Linked DNA regions of Homo sapiens: region 1 is linked to region 2. The links are contacts of gene promoters, found by promoter capture Hi-C in human tissues and cell types (Jung and others, 2019). All regions are on one chromosome and are shown on one strand. The core of a region is centred on a gene start or on the middle of the fragment in contact, and the rest is flanking DNA. Distances in the headings are between cores, read along the strand shown. Region 1 has its middle 28 kb from the start of MMP17. Region 2 holds the start of ULK1 (unc-51 like autophagy activating kinase 1).

What was found. Contacts are between HindIII fragments. The study calls those that stand out against the background at their distance.
Region 1: a contact is called between a fragment that was not itself captured here and the fragment with the promoter of ULK1 in region 2, in 1 of the 25 tissues and cell types used here (dorsolateral prefrontal cortex).

The regions. Positions count from the first base shown.
Region 1 is chr12:131,853,606-131,858,754 of GRCh38, forward strand. No RefSeq gene overlaps it. Among named protein-coding and RNA genes, the nearest start is that of MMP17, 28 kb to the left of the region's middle. RefSeq lists an enhancer at 2,329-2,880. The HindIII fragment of the contact is 9,300 bases long and covers 1-5,149 here.
Region 2 is chr12:131,892,453-131,897,040 of GRCh38, forward strand. ULK1 (unc-51 like autophagy activating kinase 1) reads left to right here and starts at 2,170. Exons shown (of 28, transcript NM_003565.4): 1 at 2,170-2,660; 2 at 3,149-3,241; 3 at 3,331-3,372. The coding sequence starts at 2,550. LOC124903059 (a long non-coding RNA gene) reads right to left here and starts at 1,706. Exons shown (of 2, transcript XR_007063538.1): 1 at 1,395-1,706; 2 at 606-1,123. RefSeq lists silencers at 1,840-1,889, 1,920-2,429, 3,497-3,646, 3,572-3,866, 3,837-3,896 and 1 more and an enhancer at 4,354-4,588. The HindIII fragment of the contact is 30,695 bases long and covers 1-4,588 here.

The sequences.
Region 1 (5,149 bases), core at 969-3,468, 39 kb before region 2:
AGCTGGGATTACAGGCAGGCACCACCACGCCTGGCTAATTTTTGTATTTTTAGTAAAGACAGGGTTTCAGCATGTTGGTCAGGCTGGTCTCGAACTCCTGACCTCAGGTGATCCACCCGCCTCAGCCTCCCTGAGGTGAGGCTAGGATTACAGGCATGAGCCAACACACCTGGCCAAGTGGCAGTATTTGAAAAAAGAAAAGCAGAGAAAAATGCTCAACCTGTAAGTATAATGCAAATATAGTGTCCAAACTCCAAACAATCTGAGCTCCAAAACACTTTTCTGGTCCTGCGCGTCTCGGATGAGGAACACGCGGGCAGGGCGTGTTGTTTTGTGGAAAGGATCTCATGTTCATAGAAAGCTGCACCCGCAGCATGAGAGTCCTCTGCATCCTTTGGGAGGCGCTGACCACCCTGAGCTCGCTTCTGTGTCTCCTGGAACGCAGGTGTCCTCCCAAGGTCAGAGTTGGGAAAGACACGCAGCCAGTGGATCTCAGATCAGAGGATGCTGCAGGGACAGACCTCACCCAGGGCAGCCTTCTTTGGCCCGGCACAGCTCCCGGGCCTTCCCCGACCCCTGTGACCTCGCACCTATGAGGGCTGCCGGCCCGTCCTTCTGTGGTCCATGCCCCCGGCCTGTCCGCCTGCACCTTCCTCGTGATGGGACCTCGGTTCTGTGTCTTCAGCAGGCAGTTTTCCATCTTCGCCTGAGTCACCATCTAAACACCTGGAGACTTCACGTGACGTTCTGGATTTTCAGAGTCACTGCTTATACCTCAGGCTGTGCTGGCCCAACTTGGAGAAGCTGTGCCCCCAGGCCCAGGAGGCAGGGCATCGCCAGCCCACAGCCACAGTCAAAACCCTCCGAAGGAGGTCAGAGGACCCACGCCACCCCAGTGAGGGGCAAGGACCTCTTCCCTTCTTCCTTCCACCCCAGGGAGGTCAGCCTGGAGGCCCAGGGTCTCTCTTGAGCCACACGGCCGGGCCAAGGCACTGGCTGCCCTTAGCGTGACCCAGGCTTTTGACCAAAAACACACAGCCCCATGGGTGCTATACAACGCCTCTGCATGGGAGACCTCCGAGGCCAGGACACACCCTCTCCAGCTCCCATGATACAGGAAGGGAAACTGAGGCACGGTGTCTTAGCTCAGCTTGCCGTGACAGGCTGCTGTAGACCATGCGGCTTCCACATGGGTGACCTCTGAGGCCAGGACACACCCTCTCCAGCTGCCGTGTTACAGGGAGGGAAACTGAGGCACGGTGTCTTAGCTCAGCTTGCCGTGACAGGCTGCTATAGACTGTGCGGCTTCCACACAGGCATTTGCTTTCCCACCAATCTGCAGGAGTCTGAGGTCAGGATGCCGGCAGGGTCAGGTTCTTAGAGGCCCGCTTCCTGGTTCAAAGCCAGCACCTTCTCACTGTGTCCTCACAAGCCCGAGAGAGAAAGTGCTGGTCCCTTCACCCCCTACCAGGGCACCAATCTCATTGTGGGGGCTCCGCCCTCACGACCTCATCTAACCCAAATCGCCTGCCAAAGGCCCCCTCCTAACACCATCACACTAGCGGTCATGGTTTCAAAATGTGACTGGTGGCCGGGCACGGTGGCTTATGCCTGTAATTCCAGCACTTTTGGAGGCCAAAGTAGGAGGATCGCTTGAGCCCAGGAGTTCAAGACCAGCCTGGGCAACACAGCAAGACCCCATCTCTACTAAAAACTTAAAAACCACACACACACGCACACACACACACACACACACAAAGATGTCTGAGGAGACACAGACATTCAGTGCATAACATCCAGGGTGGATGGGCCAAGGCTGCCCGGTGGGTGGGTGGCCCCAGATCCCAGCCGCACCTGTCCCTCCCTGCCACCCTCCTGGCCTCCTTCAGAAACCCTGTGGGGAGTGGATTGTGGGGGCTTAGGAGGCTCTGGCGGGAGGCAGATCACCCCAAAGCAGCATGAGTGACAGCTAAGATGCCGGGCCTGCCCTGCGATCTGCGACTGCAAACTCACTGAATCCTGGCAGCGACACTGAGCGGAGGGACTGGGTTACTTCTGTTTCCCAGATGAGGAAACTGAGGCCCAGAGCTGGCAGAGAGCTGTCCGAGCCCAGGTGTTCAGGGAGGGGCGGAGCCAAGTGTGAAGCCAGCGGGCACACTCTGAGGTCGGGCTGAGAGCAGCACTCCCTTGCCCAGGCGGAGGGACCGCAGGTAGCAGGACACTCTCGTGGGAATCCTAAGGACGCCAGAGCACACCGCTCCGGGGCAGCCGAGCTGGACCCACAGGTGTGACTACAGCGCAAGCCAGGGCCGCCCCTCCCAGCTCCCGGGCCGTTTTTAGGGCGCCGTGGCTGCAGCGGGGCGGCTGGCTCTGGGCTGCTTCACCCCAAGCTGTGATGGGCCAGGGTGGCTCTGCACCCCGCCCCCCTGAGCCCAGGCCAGGCAGGCAGGACCCCCGCTGCGGCTGAGAAATGGGAGGAGCCGAGGAGACAGAGCCACTGCTGGCCACACTCTCCACCTCCACCGGGTCAGGGTCCTTCCACCGTGACTGCAGGACAGGACCCCCACGGCTTCTCCACTTAACAGCAGCAGGATCCTTGCCTTCTCGCTCGCTCTGTCACCCCCAGTCTGTTTCTCTGTCTCTGCCTCTCTCTGTCTCTGTCTGTATCTCTGTCTGTCTCTCCAACTCAGTCTCTATCTTTCTCTCTCCTTGTCTCTCTGTATCTCTGTCCCTCTCCCTGTCTCTTGTCTCTCTGTCTCTCTCCCTGTCTGTCTCTCCTTGTCTCTGCCTGTCTCTGTCTCTATATCTCTGTCTCTCCATCTGTCTCTCTCCCTGTCCCTGTCTCTCTCTGTCTCCCTCCCTGTCTCTGTCTCTCTGTCTCTATCTCTGTCTCTCTCCCTGACTCTCTCTCTCTGTGCCTCTCTGTCTCTGTCTCTCCTTGCCTCTGCCTCTCTGTCTCTATATCTCTGTCTCCCCATCTGTCTCTGTCTCTCTGTCTCTATCTCTGTCCCTCTCCCTGTCTCTGTCTCTCTCCCTGTCTCTGTCTCTCTGTCTCTCTCTCTCTGTCCCTCTCCCTGTCTCTCTGTCTCTGTCTCTCCTTGTCTCTGCCTGTCTCTGACTCTATGTCTCTGTCTCTGCATCTGTCTCTCTCTATCTCCCTGTCCCTGTCTCTCTCTCTGTCTCTCTGTCTCCCTCCCTCTCTCTGGAGGTTGCCTGGCCTCCGCCGCTGGTCTCCCCTGCACTTGCACCATGGTGGGGGGCCTGGCTTGCTCCTGTCGTATGGCAGTTGGCGCTGGCTCTGGCAGGAGCCTCCATGGGGCCTGGGCTCCTCCCAGCACTCGGCTGGTGCCATGCAGGTGCCTGCATTTCTGTCACTCTTTTTTTTTAGACGGAGCCTTGCTCTGTCACCCAGGCTGGAGTGCAGTGGTGTGATCTCGGCTCACTGCAACCTCCGCCTCCCGGGTTCAAGCCATTTTCCTGCCTCGGCCTCCTGAGTACCTAGGATTACAGGCACAGGCCACCACGCCTGGCTAATTTTTGTATTTTTAGTAGAGAAGCTTTCACCATGTTGGCCAGGCTGGTCTTGAACTTCTGACCTCAAGTGATCCACCCACCTCGGCCTCCCAAAGTGCTGGGATTACAGGTGTGAGCCACCACGCCCGGCCTTCTGTCACTCTTTATTTGCTCAACGAACACCTATTAAGCCACAGGCACTGTTCCAGGTGCTGGGGCCACAGCCTTGAACCAAACAGGCCAAATCCTTAATCTTGTGAAATCTTCTGTAAATCTTCCTGTATTCCAGTGGGGAAAAAAGGCAGCCAAGCAGATGGGGCTGTACCTGTGAGAGTGTGTCACCCGTGGGTGGAGTGTGCAGTGATCAGATGTTGGTAGGAAAATGAGGCAGGGGGGCGGTGTTTGTCGAGGAGGGAAGCCGAGCCTGCAGGAGCTGAAGGAGGCTGCACACAGGCCCTGCAGCCAGTGGTGTTGGGTGCTCTGGAGATCGCTGGGTGCTCTGGGAGGTGCTGGGTGCTCTGGGGAGGTGCTGTGTGCTGGGTGCTCTGGGGAGGTGCTAGGTACTCTGGGGAGGTACTGGGTGCTCTGGGGAGGTGCTGTGTGCTGGGTGCTCTGGGGCAGTGGTGGGTGCTCTGTGGTGGTGGTGGGTGCTGTGAGGAGGTGCTGGGTGCTCTGGAGAGGTACTGAGTTCTCTGGGGAAGTGGTGGGTGCTCTGGGTTGGTGCTGGGTGCTTTGGGGAGGTGCTGGGTACTCTGGGGCGGTTCTGGGTGCTCTGGGAAGATGCTGGGTACTCTGAGGCAGTGCTCTGGGGAGGTGATGGGTACTCTGGGGTGGTGCTGGATGCTCTGGGGAGGTGCTGGGTGCTCTGGGGATGATGCTGGGTGCTGTGGGGAGGTTCTGAGTGCTCTGGGGAGGTGCTGGGTACTCTGAGGTGCTCCTGGGTGCTCTGGGTCATGCTGGGTGTTCTGCCTGATGCTGGGTACTCTAGGAAGGTGCTGGGTACTCTAGGAAGGTACTGGGTACTCTGGAACAGTGCTCTGGGGAGGTGCTGGGTACTGTGCGGTGGTGCTAGGTGCTCTGGGGCGGTGCTGGGTGCTGTGGGGAGGTGCTGGGTGCTCTAGGGAGGTGCTGGGTACTCTAGGAAGGTGCTGGGTGCTCTGGGGAGGCCCTGGGTGCTGGGTGCTCGGAGGAAGCCCTGGGTGCTGAATGCTCTGGGGAGGCCCTGGGTGCTTCAGGGATGTGCTGGGTGCTCTGGAGAGTCTGAGGAGACGCTGGGGTGTCAGGGATTTCTGTGTTTACTGTGCGGGCTCAGGGGAGCCACGGGAGGGTTTTGGGCAGAGTGGGGCCTGATGAGACGGAGGTTCTGCAGGTCCATCTGACTGCCGTTCTGAGAATGGGTGGACGTGGGGCCAGTGAGGGTGCAGGGCTGGGATTTGCCAGGGAGAGACAGTGGCTTGGACGAGGGCTGTGAGGGAGACACATCTTGGTTGTATTTGGAGATTTGTGAGGACTATGGCAGAGCGATGAGACCTCCCTTGAGCATGGGAGGGCTGCGTTTGCCGTTTTTGCCTGCGGGAGGGCGGTTTGATGGTGATGGCCTGGTGATTCCCACGTGGGAGTCAGAGGTGTGCTGATG
Region 2 (4,588 bases), core at 920-3,419:
GCTTATTACCTGGGTGATGAAATAATCCGTTCATCAAACCCTGTGAAACATAATTTACCTGTATAACAAACCTGTCCACACACCACTGAACCTAAAAGTTATAAAAAGAATAAAAAATTTAATAAGACCGCACAAAACAAAAAAGAAACATGTCCTTCCTCGGTGGGCCTAGTAACGGTTTCCAAATGCAAATCCCATCTTGCCATCCCACCCTCTCCTAAACTCTTCCTGGGTATTTCTTTGAGTTTGGGGTGAAGACCCCGTTAGCTTGGCTTTCCAGGCCAGGGTGGGCTGGGCTGGGGTTCCCTGAGTACTTTCCAGGAGTACAGGCTTCGCCATCTCTAGCAATCTCGGCCCTCACGGTCTGCCCTGATCACCTCAGCACGTAGCCACCTGTTCACTCATTTTTCTCTTGCAATTTTGCCACGGGTGGTGCAATCTTTGCTCTTCTTGTCCCCCACCCCTAAGCGCTGGGAGCTCCTGCAGGCGGGTCTTGTTCTCACTGTGTCAACTGCAGCACTTACCTCGCAGCGTGTGCTCTCTGGGCAGGCCGGTGTGCAGCAGGCACTCCAGGATGTGAGTGAATGCTATGGCTGACTACGGGGCACTGTGGAACCTCTTTATTGGGAAAACAAACATGGTGGGCCAGGAGACCTCTTGTCCCTTCCAGCTCGGTGGCTTCTGGCCCCCAGTCCAGGGTCGGGAGTCTGTGTGTCCTGCGGCCTGGAGGATGAGCTGGGTGCAGGTAAAAGGCATCCAGGACTTGCTGATCCAGCCCAGGGCATCAGGCTGTCCAGCTGCTGGGCTGCTCTGGGAGGCAGCATGGAGGGTCCTGGCTGAAGTGTGTGTTTCTGGGCTGTTACTTTAGGACTGTACTGAAGGCTGGGTTGGTGAGCATTGTTTAGAATCATGCATTTGCAAAAGCAGTGCTTGCACGTGGTGAAAGCCATTCCAACTAGCGCGCAACGTGTACGGTGAACAGCACTAACTTTTCCCCGGTCCTCTCTCCCAGAGCAATCGCTGTTGGCTGTGTCTTCTGTGAGTGAGCCCCCGGGCTCTTTTGGCTGCCGGCGGTGTGACTTTGGACACATTCTCCAACTTTTCTCCGCCTTGATTTCCTCATCTGTAAAACAGGGACATAACAGCAAGTGCCTCGTGGAATCATTGAATGGATGCACTAATCGCTGGAAAGTGCGCTGCTTGGCCTAAGTGATGAGTTAGCTGTCATTATAGTTAGGAACGACCATGTACACATTACAGGCGTTTCACACACACACACATCCCAATCCTACCGCTTTCTTAAAACGACAGACAGTACAGTGCCCTGTTCCATATTTTGCTTTTACTTAATTATAATCTTTGGAGAACTCACCCTTGAGCACAGGTATATTTACCTCTGTGCAGTGTTCCACAGGACCGATGCGCAGCCCATCTAGCTAACCTTTCCTCCCCAGCGGATTTATGGGCTATGTCGTTGGTTTGGGTGACAACTTTTTGGTCTACAATTTTTTTTTTTTTTTTTGCAATTTGGCATTATGGAACTCAACTTTAAATGCCTAACCTCTAACTCAGCCATTCTATTTCTAAGAATTAATTCTGCGCAGTCCCCCGTTTTGGGAACATTTCCCACGCCTGTTCTCCATTCTCCTGTAGAAGGGGAACAGGGAGCGGGAAGGAGGGGAACAGGGAAGGGGAGGGAGGGGAACAGGGAGGGGGGACAGGAGGGAGGAGAACAGGCAGTGGGGGCGGGAGGGGAGCGGGGGGGAAGGCATGGGAGGGGGCGGAAGGGAGGGGGCAGGGAGGGAGAGAGGTGATGGGAAGGGGAAAAGGAGGGAGGAGGACGGAGAGAGGGGAAAGGAGGGAGGGGAGCAGAGAAGAAGCGGGGCGGGGAAGGGGCGGGGAAGGGGCGTGGAAGGGAGTGGGGCAAGGAATCAACACTGAGCCCCGTGGCCCGCTCCCGGGTCAGCGCGCCTCTCTGCTCTCACCGGGGCGGGTCCGCTGTTGGCCCCACCCACTCCCAGCCCACCCGGCCCCGCAATGGCCCGGCCCAGCCGCCCACCCCCCCGACAGGCCCCGCCCCATTCCCCGCCCCCCGTCTGTTCGTCACGCCCGGCTCTGCCGCTCCGTCCCGCAGGCCCCGCCCTCATCCCGCCTCCCGGCCCGGCGCGCAGTGCGGCTGCGCGGGCGTCTCAGGCTCTGAGGCCCGGGCGCCGCGGCTCTTTTGTTTCTCCGTTGGGGCCGAGCCCGGGCCCTAGTTGGAGCCGGAGTCGGAGTCGGAGTCGGATCCGGATTCGGATTAGCAGCCCGGGAAGAGTGCCGTGGCACAGGCGCCGGAGGGAGCGCGACCCTCGGACCCCGCCTGGCCCGCGGGGCTGGGACCCGGCCCCGGCCTGCCCGATGGGGCGCGCGGCCCCGGAGATGCGCCCTCGCCCGGCCCCGCGCCCCCGGCCCCGCGCCCCCGGCCCGCCCGCCCCGGCCCGCGCCTCCGCCTGAGTCCCCCGCGCCTTGGCCCGCCACCCCCCGCCCCGCGCCCCCGGCCCGCCTGCGCCATGGAGCCCGGCCGCGGCGGCACAGAGACCGTGGGCAAGTTCGAGTTCTCCCGCAAGGACCTGATCGGCCACGGCGCCTTCGCGGTGGTCTTCAAGGGCCGCCACCGCGAGGTGAGGCCCCCGTCCGGCCCGGGATCCCCCGCCCAGGATCCCCTGCCCCTGCATCCCCGCCCCGAGATTCCCCGCCTGTCCCGGGACCCCCCCACGCCTCCCGAGAGCCCCACTCGACTTTCCAGGCCGACCCCCACCCCAGGATCCCCACCCCGCGACCCCCAGCCCGACTTTCCAGTTCAGACTCCCGCCCCGAGATCCGCTGCCGGGCTTTCCAGCCCAGATCCTCACTCCGAGACCCCCAGCCCGACTTTCCTGTCCAAACCCTCACCCCGGGACACCCCGCAACCTGGTCCCACAGCCGGCTTTCGAGGCTGGATCCCTACCCCAGGACCCCCAGCGCGATCCTCAACCTGGCTCCCCACTCGGCCTTCCAGTCCCGGGATTCCCAACCGGGATCATCTCAGGGCCCCACCTGTGTGGACTGGGGTCTGGGGGAGGCCTGCGAGGGGCAGCCCTGGCCTTGAAGGTGCACGTTTGGCTTTCAGAAGCACGATTTGGAGGTCGCCGTCAAGTGCATTAACAAGAAGAACCTCGCCAAGTCTCAGACGCTGCTGGGGAAGGAAATCAAAATCCTGAAGGTGAGCCAGTGCTGGGGGAGGGGGCGTGGGCGTGGGCGTGGGCAAGCCCCCCTCCCCACACTGATAACAAACTTGGGTTTCTGTCCTAGGAACTGAAACATGAAAACATCGTGGCCCTGTACGACTTCCAGGTAAGGCCTCTGGGCTGCGGTCTGCTGGGGACCGGGCTGGGGGACTGTGGCCCCAGGTGCTGGATCCCCTGGTGAGCACTGGTGTTGAGCCTGTCCAGGCTGGGGTCTACTGGGCCCCTGGAGACTCCACCCTGGGTCCAGGCCTGGGCTGGTGCTGGCTCTTGCTGTGACTTCCCCAGCTGTGAGACCGGGGAGGGGGTGTCTGGGCCGCAGGGCGCCCCAGGGCAGGGCTGAGTTCTCCTGAACAGGCATCCCCTCCCCGCCGGGCGTCAGTCCTAGGGGCCCTGCCTGAGTCCGGCGTCCCCGGCTGGCCCTGGCAGCACTGCCGGCCTGGCCCACCTGTCTAGGCCGTGTGTTTGTTGACATTGCTCCTGCGGCCGGCATTGGCCGGCCTCGCTCTGCGTCAGACGGGGCGGGGGAGGGGCCGCCGGAGACTCCTGCTCGCTGGCAGTCAGGGCCGGGCCGGGGCACAGGCGGCTGCCGCTGGCTGGCCAAGGAGATGACCTCGGGCCCGGCTGGCCCCAAGAAGCAAGCGGTGGGACCAGCTGGCTTTCGTGCTGCCTCCGTGTCCCGGGGCCCAGGGCAGGCAGGGCTGGGGCTGTGGGAGCCAGGGTGCCGTCCTGGGGACCAGGAACCTGAGGCGGGAGATCCGCCCCGCCAAAGTGCTGACTAATGGCTCTGTGACCTGTTTACTGAGCCCAGGGCCCAGCCCCTGGCTGAGGGAAGGGCTGGCAGGCCGTGTTTTGGTGGCCTCCTCCGTCCGCCTCTCAGAGCTTTGCTGTGGCCTTGGGGACCGAGGCTTGTCACAAGGTGCCGGGTGGGGGGGGCCCAGGTCCAGCGAGTACCTGGAAACCCAGGCACACTGTGTCCTGGAGCTGGGCCATCCCTCCTGCTGCTTTTCCCGCCCTCTTCCCACCCCTTTTCTCCCTGCTTTCCTCCCTCCCTTCCTCCTCTTTCCTCATCCTCTCCATGTTTGGAAGCCTCCTGCCTGGACCACAGCCTGCACATGCGTCATGGCTCTGGGAGCCAGCAAGGAGTGGACAGCTGTCCCTGGCCAGGCAGCGACTCTGAGGGACTCCCCCTCCACCCTGGGCTACACTGCCTGCTGCTCCCCTCCAGGGCTCCCCAGGTCCAGTCCTGGGCATCTCCAGGCCAGGCCCTGTGACTGTCCGCACGACCCCCGCAGACCCGGGACCAGTATCCCCAGGCCCAGCTC